Linked DNA regions of Homo sapiens: region 1 is linked to region 2. The links are contacts of gene promoters, found by promoter capture Hi-C in human tissues and cell types (Jung and others, 2019). All regions are on one chromosome and are shown on one strand. Each heading gives the region's core, a stretch centred on a gene start or on the middle of the fragment in contact. The rest is flanking DNA. Distances are from core to core; before and after follow the strand shown.

What was found. Contacts are between HindIII fragments. The study calls those that stand out against the background at their distance.
Region 1: a contact is called between a fragment that was not itself captured here and the fragment with the promoter of CDC23 in region 2, in 1 of the 25 tissues and cell types used here (dorsolateral prefrontal cortex).

What each region holds. Positions count from the first base shown.
Region 1 is chr5:137,742,250-137,747,192 of GRCh38, reverse strand. It overlaps HNRNPA0 (heterogeneous nuclear ribonucleoprotein A0), which reads left to right. Exons shown (of 1, transcript NM_006805.4): 1 at 1-1,542. Among named protein-coding and RNA genes, the nearest start is that of KLHL3, 8.6 kb to the right of the region's middle. The HindIII fragment of the contact is 5,717 bases long and covers 529-4,943 here.
Region 2 is chr5:138,211,986-138,216,840 of GRCh38, reverse strand. It overlaps CDC23 (cell division cycle 23), which reads left to right and starts at 3,518. Exons shown (of 16, transcript NM_004661.4): 1 at 3,518-3,689; 2 at 3,778-3,850. The coding sequence starts at 3,529. RefSeq lists an enhancer at 3,207-3,501. The HindIII fragment of the contact is 12,003 bases long and covers 1-4,855 here.

The DNA of each region.
Region 1 (4,943 bases), core at 2,138-4,637, 470 kb after region 2:
ATATACTTAGCAAGAGATTGTGAGTGGCCACAGCTCTGCTCCAGTGGCCCTCTTATAGCTCTAGGTCTTTTCTGGCTTCTCGTAACTGTCTCCTATTGCTAGATTCTCTAGTCCCAAGAAGGTTCAAACCTTGTTGATTTGCCTTAACTGTGCCCATACCCTTGTAAATAGTTCCTTTTATTAAAACTCTTCAATAACTGAATATACTGTGGTCATCTCTTCAGTGAAATTAAAAAAAAAAACTTCTTTCACATTTTCTTATGACTTGATCTTCCCACACCACCAAACGTGAAGATCTAGCTATTTGCACTAGGTTACTATCCCTAAATTCAGTGCCTCCCTGTTTCTTAGTATGTCAAGTTAAAATTTGTTACTCTTCTGCTGGGTGATTGTGCTGGAAATACAGAAGAAAAAGACAAAAATCCCTGCCCTCAAAGAGCTTATATTTTACTGGGGAGAGACAGGCAATAAGACATAATCAATTATATGGTATGTTAGAAGATGAGAAGTATAGAAAAAATTAGGGTGAGGAATGGCGATTGTTGCAAGGGATGTTTGTGAGGATAGCATACTTTAAAATAGGTGGTATGGGTAGGTCTCTCAGAAAGTGACATTTGAGCAAAGACTTGAAGGAAATGTGGGAGTGAGCAATATAGGTATGGGAAGAGCATTCTAGGTAGAGGATTAGGAAGAGCAAAAGCCCTGAAGCAGGACTGTGTCTGGCCTCTGAAGAAATGCAAATTGTTCAGGGTTGTTGGACCTGAAGGAAGAGGAGGAAAGGAATAATGAGGCCAGAGGGGCCAGATCATGTAGGGATTTGTAGGTTGTTGTAAGGATTTTGGTTTTCACTAAATGAATGGTGAACCATTTCAGTTTTGAGCAGAGGAGTTCCATGATCTGATTTGAATTTTAAAAGATGTGTTTCCCAAAATTCCTATTCCTTTCATACAGCTGCTTTCAATGAAGGTTTATAAGGAAAGCAATCAGAACTACTTGGATAAGGTATAAGTGATCCACAATCTTTTCAACTCTACCATAGGTATCTACATATATATGTTGAGAGATGCTGCTTTTTGGCCAAAATGAATCTTGAATTGGGGGTGTGCAGAAAAAGTTATATCTGGCCTGAGGCTGGTATCTTTTAGAGTGGCCTACTTGCATGGTTGGCCCTTATCTGAACACGTGGATTTAGGGGTATTCTCACTGTTCACTAATAAAGGTGGTTCACTGTACCTAGACTGTTCAAACAAGATGATTTATGCTAAACACCTGCTTTCCTTCTGGGAGTATGGAATTTTGGTACATGCCAGGTAAAGGATGTCTATATGACCAAACTCCCAATGAAAACCTTGCATACTGAGTCCCTAGGCAGAAACATCCCTCGTATAAAAATGTGCTCTGTGTGAATCTTCATGGGAGGGAGAGATCCTAAAGAAGCCTGCACATGGATTCCTCCAGATTCTGCTTATGTCTTTTTCCTGTATGATCCAACTGTGTACACTTACTGTGTCACTGTAATAAACTTTAGCCATGAGTACGATACTTAGCAGTGCTGAGTTTTGTGAACCCTTCTATCAAATCTCAATATGGGCTTGGTCCGGGGGATCCCTGACACAGGCAGATTTTTTTTTTTTTTTTCAAAGAGTCACCAAGTTAATTGGAAAACATCAGGTTATGGATAGAAGGAGCAGTTGGGCAACCTGTCACAGAAGTCAGCCAGCTCTGTCTAGTGGAGAGCTCTTCTGAGCTGTTTCTGCTTTGTTAATTCCTTTTCTTTCTCCAAAAGCTTCCCTCCATTTGGTTTTGTCACACTTTATACATTTGTAACAAACTGCTGACCGGAATTTGTCCATCAGGTTATGAAAAATGGCAAATGAGGAGAGTAAAATTATGGATTTATTTATTAAGAACTATTAAAGTATTCATATGCTCTGGGACACCATTACTAGGAATTTAACCTTAACAGAACAGTTTATTGAAAAATTTATTGAAAGGAAAACAGTCTTTGCATAAAAATTATGACGTAGCAAAAAATTGGAAACTAAATGTCAAATATTAGGGAAATGTTAACTGTGGTCTGTCAAAAGGTGAAATATTAACTCAGTGTTATCAGGTGAATGAATTAACAAGATGTGGTATATACATACAATGGAATATTCAGCCATAAGAAAGAATAAATTTCTGGTATATGCTACAAGATGAATGAAAACATGCCAAGTGAAATAAGCCTGCACAAAAGGACATACTATGATTGCACTTAAATGAGGTACCCAGAGTAGGCAAATTCAGAGAGATAGAAATGGGAAATTACTGTTTAAGGGATACAGAATTTCTTTTCAGATGTTGAGAAAGTTCTGAAAATGGATAGTGGTGATTGTTATACAACATTATGAATGTACTTAATGCTGATGAATCGTATATTTAAAAATGGTTAAAATGGCTTTTTTTCTTTTTTTTGGAGGCCGGGTCTTACTCTGGTGCCCAGGCTGGAGTGCAGTGGCATGATCATAGCTCACTGGAGCTTCGAACTGTGGGCTCAAGTGATCCTCCCACCTCAGCCTCCCCCGTAGCTAGAACTGACTACAGGCACGCGCCACCACAGCTAGCTAATTTAAAAAATCTTTTTGTAGAGATGGAGTCTTGCTATATTGCCCAGGCTAGTATTGAACTCCTGGGCTCAAGTGATCCTCCCACCTCAGCCTACCAAAATCCTGGGATTACAAGTGTGAGCCACCACACCTGGCCTAAAATGGCAAATTTAATGTATATTTTACCACAATAGAAATTGTAATGAAAAAATATATTATTTAACATAATAAATATGTAAGTATATTAAAGTAGTGGGATGAAAAAATTGTATCTTTTAAATATTTTTTTAAAGACAAGGGCTTGCCCTGTTGCCCAGGCTGTAGCACAGTGGTGGTGCAATCATGGCTCACTGCAGCCTCAAACTCCTGGGCTCAGGTGATCCCTCTGCCCATGCCTTCCAAGTAGCTAGGACTACAGGTGCACACCACTATGCCTGGTTAAGTTTTAAAATTTTTTTTGTAGAGATGAGGTCTTACCATGTTCCCCAGGCTGGTCTCAAAACTACTGTGCTCAAGCGGTCCTCTCTCCTTGTCCTCCCAAAGTGCTGGGATTACAGGTGTGAGCCACCATGCCCGGCCAAAAAAATTTTTTAAATGAAATCATGGGACGTTGAAATTACCTATTTGCAAATATTTACAATTATGAATACCTTTTAAAAACTCCATAGAATTATTAAGTTCTCAATTTATTTCTATTCTCATGTCATCCACCCTCTCCCCAACTGGAAGTTGCCTCTTCTCCCACCAAGTTTCCATGATACCCTTTCTGTACTTGACTCTCATACTTTTTACCATTGTATATGCCTATGTCTAATTTTCTCAAACAGCTTGTGTGCTCTTTGGAATTATATTAATATAGGATTTATGTTGTCAGTCTCTGGTACAGCCTGCATAGTAGATATTCAGTGAGACTTAGTTGACTGAATCATAAGCATGCTATTTTACGAAGGTAGAGATTTACCAAAATGTTTGAGCATACGTGCCCATGGGTTTTATATCACTTCAAGTGTGTGCCTGCCTCAATTCTCTGTACTTGCTAGATGTGCAGACCTGATCTCACCCACATACACATCACTGTATTCTTGACTTTAGGGCTTTGCATCATTCATTTATATTTTACCTTTTTATGTAAAACAGCCCAATTTTCTTTGGATCCCGAAAGGAAAGAACTGCAGGCGTGAGGCAGGGGCAGCAGATAGAGGAGAGGATCATTGCAGTCAATTTAAAGTTGCATATGCCTATTGGAAAGTTGTAAGTAAGAAATAATGTTCATTCCTGAATAGAATGTCTGTGAAGGAAGCATATATTTTTTTCCTTCTTAAGCCCCAGTTGTAGTAATTAGGTTTTACTTTTGTTATGAAGAGATGTATACTTTTGCCAGCAGAGGGCACCAGTTGTAGGTTGCAGATTCATGGGAAGACTCAGAGACCAGTGTGCTGGTCTGTGTGAAGCACTCTGCTTGTTGCTTTAGTTGGTCTGCCCCCCACCCACCCGCCTTTTTTTTTTTTTTTTTTTTAATTCCCTTGGGTTCCAGTGGTACTCTTCCAGCTTTCCCCAAGAGCATTCTTTGGCTAGTCCTGGTTAATAAGCTAGGTGCCCAGATGAATCCAGGTGGAAGGACTTTATTATAGTAGCTGTTTGGAAGCCTTGGATGCCAGCTTGTATGTAATATCTTTAGGGGTTCAAAGCTGTTTTTCCTCATCCAGAGGTAAGGTGAAAAAGGCATTAGGCCAGGCATCTGAGGGTCTGGTTCTGCACTGAGGTTGGCTCTCTAAGTAGTTTTGAGCCAGTTACCTTTTCTCTCTGTCTCAATTAGCTTATCTCTAAAATGGAGACAGTAAGATAGGGGTAGTACATTCTGTGTATAGCTAATAGTGGTCTCTTAGGTCAGGCAGACCTGGGTTCAAATTCCAGCTTTGCCATTTACTAACTGTGGGGCCTTGGTTCAAGTTATTTAACTCTCAGAACCTCGATTCTCTCATGTTTAAAAGAGAAATAATAGTCCTACAGGGTTGTGAGAATTAAATGACAAGGGTACATGTGAAGTGTGGAATACAGGGTCTGGCCCAGAGTAAATATTCAAGGAATGGGAGCTATTATTACCATTCAGGGGATGTTGTCTTAAGTCAAAGGAGATGATGGATATGAAGCACTTTGTAAGCTTAAAAATGCAACACAAATGGCATGAGTGATTATACTCTGGAATCTACTTGGCGTGAATTCTTTTACCTTCAGAGGAAGAGTCCTTATTCCTCTGGATAAGGTGCTGTTTTGTTTCTCTTTTGACTTTTTGGGGTCTCAAGTTCCTTTTCAGTTTCTGCCTGGCTGTCTGAGGGCACTTGGCAAGTGCTCCTG
Region 2 (4,855 bases), core at 2,269-4,768:
TTTGTACCTGCCTGTAATCCCAGCTACTTGAGATGCTGAGGCAGGAGGATCTCATGAGTCTAGAGTGACAGAGTGCTTGTTCTATTCAGTTGAGTATTATATGCTTTAAATATTATGGTTTTTTGTTTTGTTTTATTTTGAGACAGAGTCCTGCTCTGTTGCCCAGGCTGGAGTGCAGTGGCACGATCTCAGCTCACTGCAAGCTCTATTTCCTGGGCTGAAGCAATTCTGCCTCAGCCTCCTGAGTAGCTGGGATTACAGGCACACCACCATGCCCAGCTAATTTTTGTATTTTTGGTAGAGATGGGGTTTCTCCACGTTGGCCAGACAGGTCTCGAACTCCTGACCTCAGGTGATCTGCCTGCCTCAGGCTCCCAAAGTGCTGGGATTACAGGCATTAGCCACTGTGCCCGGCCAATTTATGGTACATTCATATAATGGATTATCATGCAGTTATTAAGTATCACGATTTAGAAGAATATTAACTTGGGAAAATACTTAGAGTGAATTATCAAATGACAAATGTGGGCAGCACTGCAGTATGAAGCTATGTACACAGATGGATGGAGAAACACAGAAACCAGTGATTTCCTTTGGGTGGGAGTTAGTGTTCTACATATTTTTCTTTCTTAAAAAAATTAATTAATTAATTAATTATGTTTGAGACAGAGTCTCACTCTTGTCCAGGCTAGAGTACAGTGGCACGATCTTGGCTTACTGCAACCTCTACCTCCTGGGTTCAAGCGATTCTCCTGCCTCAGCCTTCGGAGTAGCTGGGACTACAGGTGCATAATACCACACCCAGCTAATTTTTGTAGTTTTAGTAGAGATGGGGTTTCACCACGTTTGTCAGGCTGGTCTCCATCTCCTGACCTCAGGTGATCCATCCATCTAGGCCTTGTTGGTATTACAGGCGTGAGCCACTGCGCTTGGCCCATATTTTTCTTTTCTTTTTTTTTTTTTGAGACCGAGTCTCGCTCTGTTGCCCAGGCTGGAGTGCAGTGGCGTGATCTTGGCTCACTGCAAGCTCCGCCTCCCGGCTTCACATGTTCTCCTGCCTCAGCCTCCCGGGTAGCTGGGACTACGGCACCCGCCACTAAGCCTGGCTTTTTTGTATTTTTAGTACAGACGGGGTTTCACTGTGTCAGCCAGGATGGTCTCGATCTCCTGACCTCGTGATCCACCCGCCTCTGCCTCCCAAAGTGCTGGGATTACACGCGTGAGCCACCACGCCCACCTCCCATATTTTTCTTTATAGTTAATGTATTCTTCAAGTTTTTGCCATTGACATTACTTCTTTTTTTTTTTTTGAGATAGGGTCTCTGCATCCAGGCTGGAGAGTGCAGTGGTGCAATCATAGCTCACTGCAACCTCAAACTCCTGGACTCAAGTGATCCTCCCACCTCAGCCTCCCGAGTAGCTGGGATGACAGGCATGCACCACCATGCCTGGATATATATTTTTTTAATTTTTAATTTTTATAGTAGTAGTGATAGGGAGGTCTTGGTATGTTGCCCAGGCTGGTCTTCAACAGCTGGGCTCAAATGATCTTCCCGCCTCAGCCTCCCAAAGCACTGGGAATATAGGCCCGCAAATTGATTTTTTTAAAGGGTAAAATGGGCTGGGCATGGTGGCTTATGCTTGTAATCCCAGAACTTTGGGAGGGCAAGGCGAGAGGATCATTTAAGCCCAGGAGTTTGAGACCAGCCTGGGCAACATAGGGAGATTCTGTCCCTACGAAAATTACAAAAAAAAAAAAAATTAGCTGGGTGTCGTGACACACACCTGTGGTCCCAGCTACTTGGGAGGCTGAGGCGGCAGGATCACTGGAGCCCAGGAGTTTGAGGATGCAGTGAGCCTTGATCGGGCCGCGGCCACTCCAGCCTGGATGACAGAACGAGACCTTCTTTCTTTTTTTTTTTTTTGAGACAGAGTCTCGTTCTGTCGCCCAGGCTGGAGTGCAGTGGCGCGATCTCTGCTCACTGCAAGCTCCGCCTCCCAGGTTCACGCCATTCTGTCTCAGCTTCCAGAGTAGCTGGGACTACAGGTGCCTGCCACCACGCCCGGCTAATTTTTTTTTTTTTTGTATTTTTAGTAGAGACAGGGGTTTCACCGTGTTAGCCAAGATGGTCTTGATCTCCTGACCTCGTGATCCGCCCGCCTTCGCCTCGCAAAGTGCTGGGATTACCGGCGTGAGCCACCGCGCCCGGCCGAGACCCTTTCTTAAAATAAATAAAATAATAAAATAACAATTTAAAAATAGATAACTTCTATATAACACCCAGTGAATGACAAAATGGTTTCAAAAAAAATTCCCGAGGGGTTGGTAAGATAGTATACTACTATGAAAGGATAAAAACCAAAAAACGCCGAAAATGTTCATGTAATGTTTAAGAACATTGGGCTTTGGAGTAAAATCTGGTTTATAGTCTAGACTCTCTCCTTGGAAGAGTGATAGAACTTCTCTGAGCTTCCGTTTTTTCTTTTTTTTCTTTTCTGGTTTTGTTTTTTTTTTTTTTTTTTTTTGACGGAGTCTCGCTCTGTCGCCCAGGCTGGAGTGCAATGGCACGATCTCGGCTCATTGCAACCTCCGCCTCCCAGGTTCAAGCGATTCTCCTGCCTCAGCCTGCCGAGTAGCTGGGACTACAGACACGTGCCACCACGCCCGGCTAATTTTTATGTATTTTTAGTAGAGACGGGGTTTCACCGTGTTGGCCAGGATGGTCTCGATCTCCTGACCTCGTGATCCGCCCGCCTCGGCCTCCCACAGTGTTGGATTACAGGCTTGAGCCACCGCGCCTGGCCGAGCTTCCGTTTTTCTTTCTATAAAATTGGGATGATACGAATATCATAGTGCTGTTTTTAGGATTAAACCAGATTATAGTTGTAAAAGAGCAGAACCTGTTGTAGGATAAACCCTCAATAAATGTGAAATGTTAACAATTATTGTTAAATAAATGTTACAGAACAATGCTCTCACCCCCACCTCCCCGGGCTACCCGGGGTAAGAAAGGGTAGACAAAGAGGAAAAATCCTCCACATGGGGCGATACATCCTCCTATTTTAAGGAAGAATCCAGAGGCTACCATGCATCTTTCCTAGCATATACATCACTTTGTCATTATCTGGTACAGAGTCGGCCCTGAAACTACACCCTTTCTATTTTTCATCCAATCACATCACCCGTGAAAGGCACTCTCCCTTCTCCACCCTTTCTTGCCCCTACTCCCACCCCTAGCTTCCCAGTTTACTTTTCCCAGTCACTCATTCCCCTCTTCCCCGCCCCGCCCAGAGGTCGTGGCTTCTCCCTCGCCCCGCCTATTTTCTAATTTTCCCGCCTCAGTAGCTCTTGGCCATTTGGGGATGTAGTTGTTTCTTTTCCCCCGCCTCTTCGTGACGTTTCAGAAATAAGACCTATGATTGGTTTTTCCGGAGCAAGAGCCGGCCAATGACAGGCAGATATTTTTGGTGCAGATGGGCAGCCAGTATTATCGCCGATGATTGGCTGGAGTGGCCCGAGTCGGGAAAATGGCTGCGAGTACCTCCATGGTCCCGGTGGCTGTGACGGCGGCAGTGGCGCCTGTCCTGTCCATAAACAGCGATTTCTCAGATTTGCGGGAAATTAAAAAGCAACTGCTGCTTATTGCGGGCCTTACCCGGGAGCGGGGCCTACTACACAGTAGCAAATGGTGAGATGTTGGAGTGGGAAGGGACGGGGCTTGGATCCTTGGCCTTGGGGGGCTTGTCGAGCTGATCTAGTTTGTGTGGGTGTTCCAGGTCGGCGGAGTTGGCTTTCTCTCTCCCTGCATTGCCTCTGGCCGAGCTGCAACCGCCTCCGCCTATTACAGAGGTAAGGACATGTTTACAGTGAGCGCTCCCCATCAACCCAGGGGTGTGCCTCAAGAGCCACTGAGTGCCCTGTCACTGGAGGAGAGCAAACTGCTTAGCAGAAATGTTTGTAGAGGGAATTCAGGCATTCAAAGAGCTGAGTGTTTTAAATGATTTTATCCATTTAGTTTTCTTGAGCTTTGAAAGACTTGGTGGTGCTCTTATTTAAAGCTGGGGAGAATTAGTAAACAATTACTGCTTATGATTTCAGCCTTTTAGGGCTTATAGCCAAACCTAGACATAAGAGTGCCTCATAATAGTAAATATTATTATAAGGAATTATTATAAGGATATCTCATAATAAATACCCAAAAGGATGAGAAGAATCAAAAGTTTTGGTCTGGCGCGGTGGCTCACGCCTGTAATCCCAACACTTTAGGAGGCCGAGGTGGGCGGATCACGAGGTTAGGAGTTCGAGACCAGCTTGGCCAACACGGTGAAACCCCGTCTCTAGTAAAAATACAAAATTAGCCGGACATGGTGGCGCGCGCCTGTAATCCCAGTTACTCGGGAGGCTGAGACAGGAGAATCGCTTAAACCCGGGAGGCGAAGGTTGCAGTGAGCTGAGATCGCGCCATTGCACTCCAGCCCGAGGGCAGAGCGGGACACTGTCTCAAAATAAATAATAAATAAATAAAGTTTTTACAATACCTACACTGTTGTCTGATCAGCATAGCAAATAATGGTTAAGTTTGGGTGCTGGATTGAGACGACTCTGGGTTCAAATGACCTTTGGCAACTTAACCTTCTGAGCCAGTTTCCTCATCTGTGCAGTGACGATAGTAATAGTATCTACTCAATGGGGATATTGAGAGAAGTCAATGAGATAATAATATAGACCGCTTAGAAGTGTGCCTGGTGCTTGCATCTATATTTCGGTCAAGTTCTTTATTAGCAGCACCAATGTGGGCAAATGATTTCTAAGTGACAGCCTTCTCATCTATAGATAATGTTAATAATTGCTGCA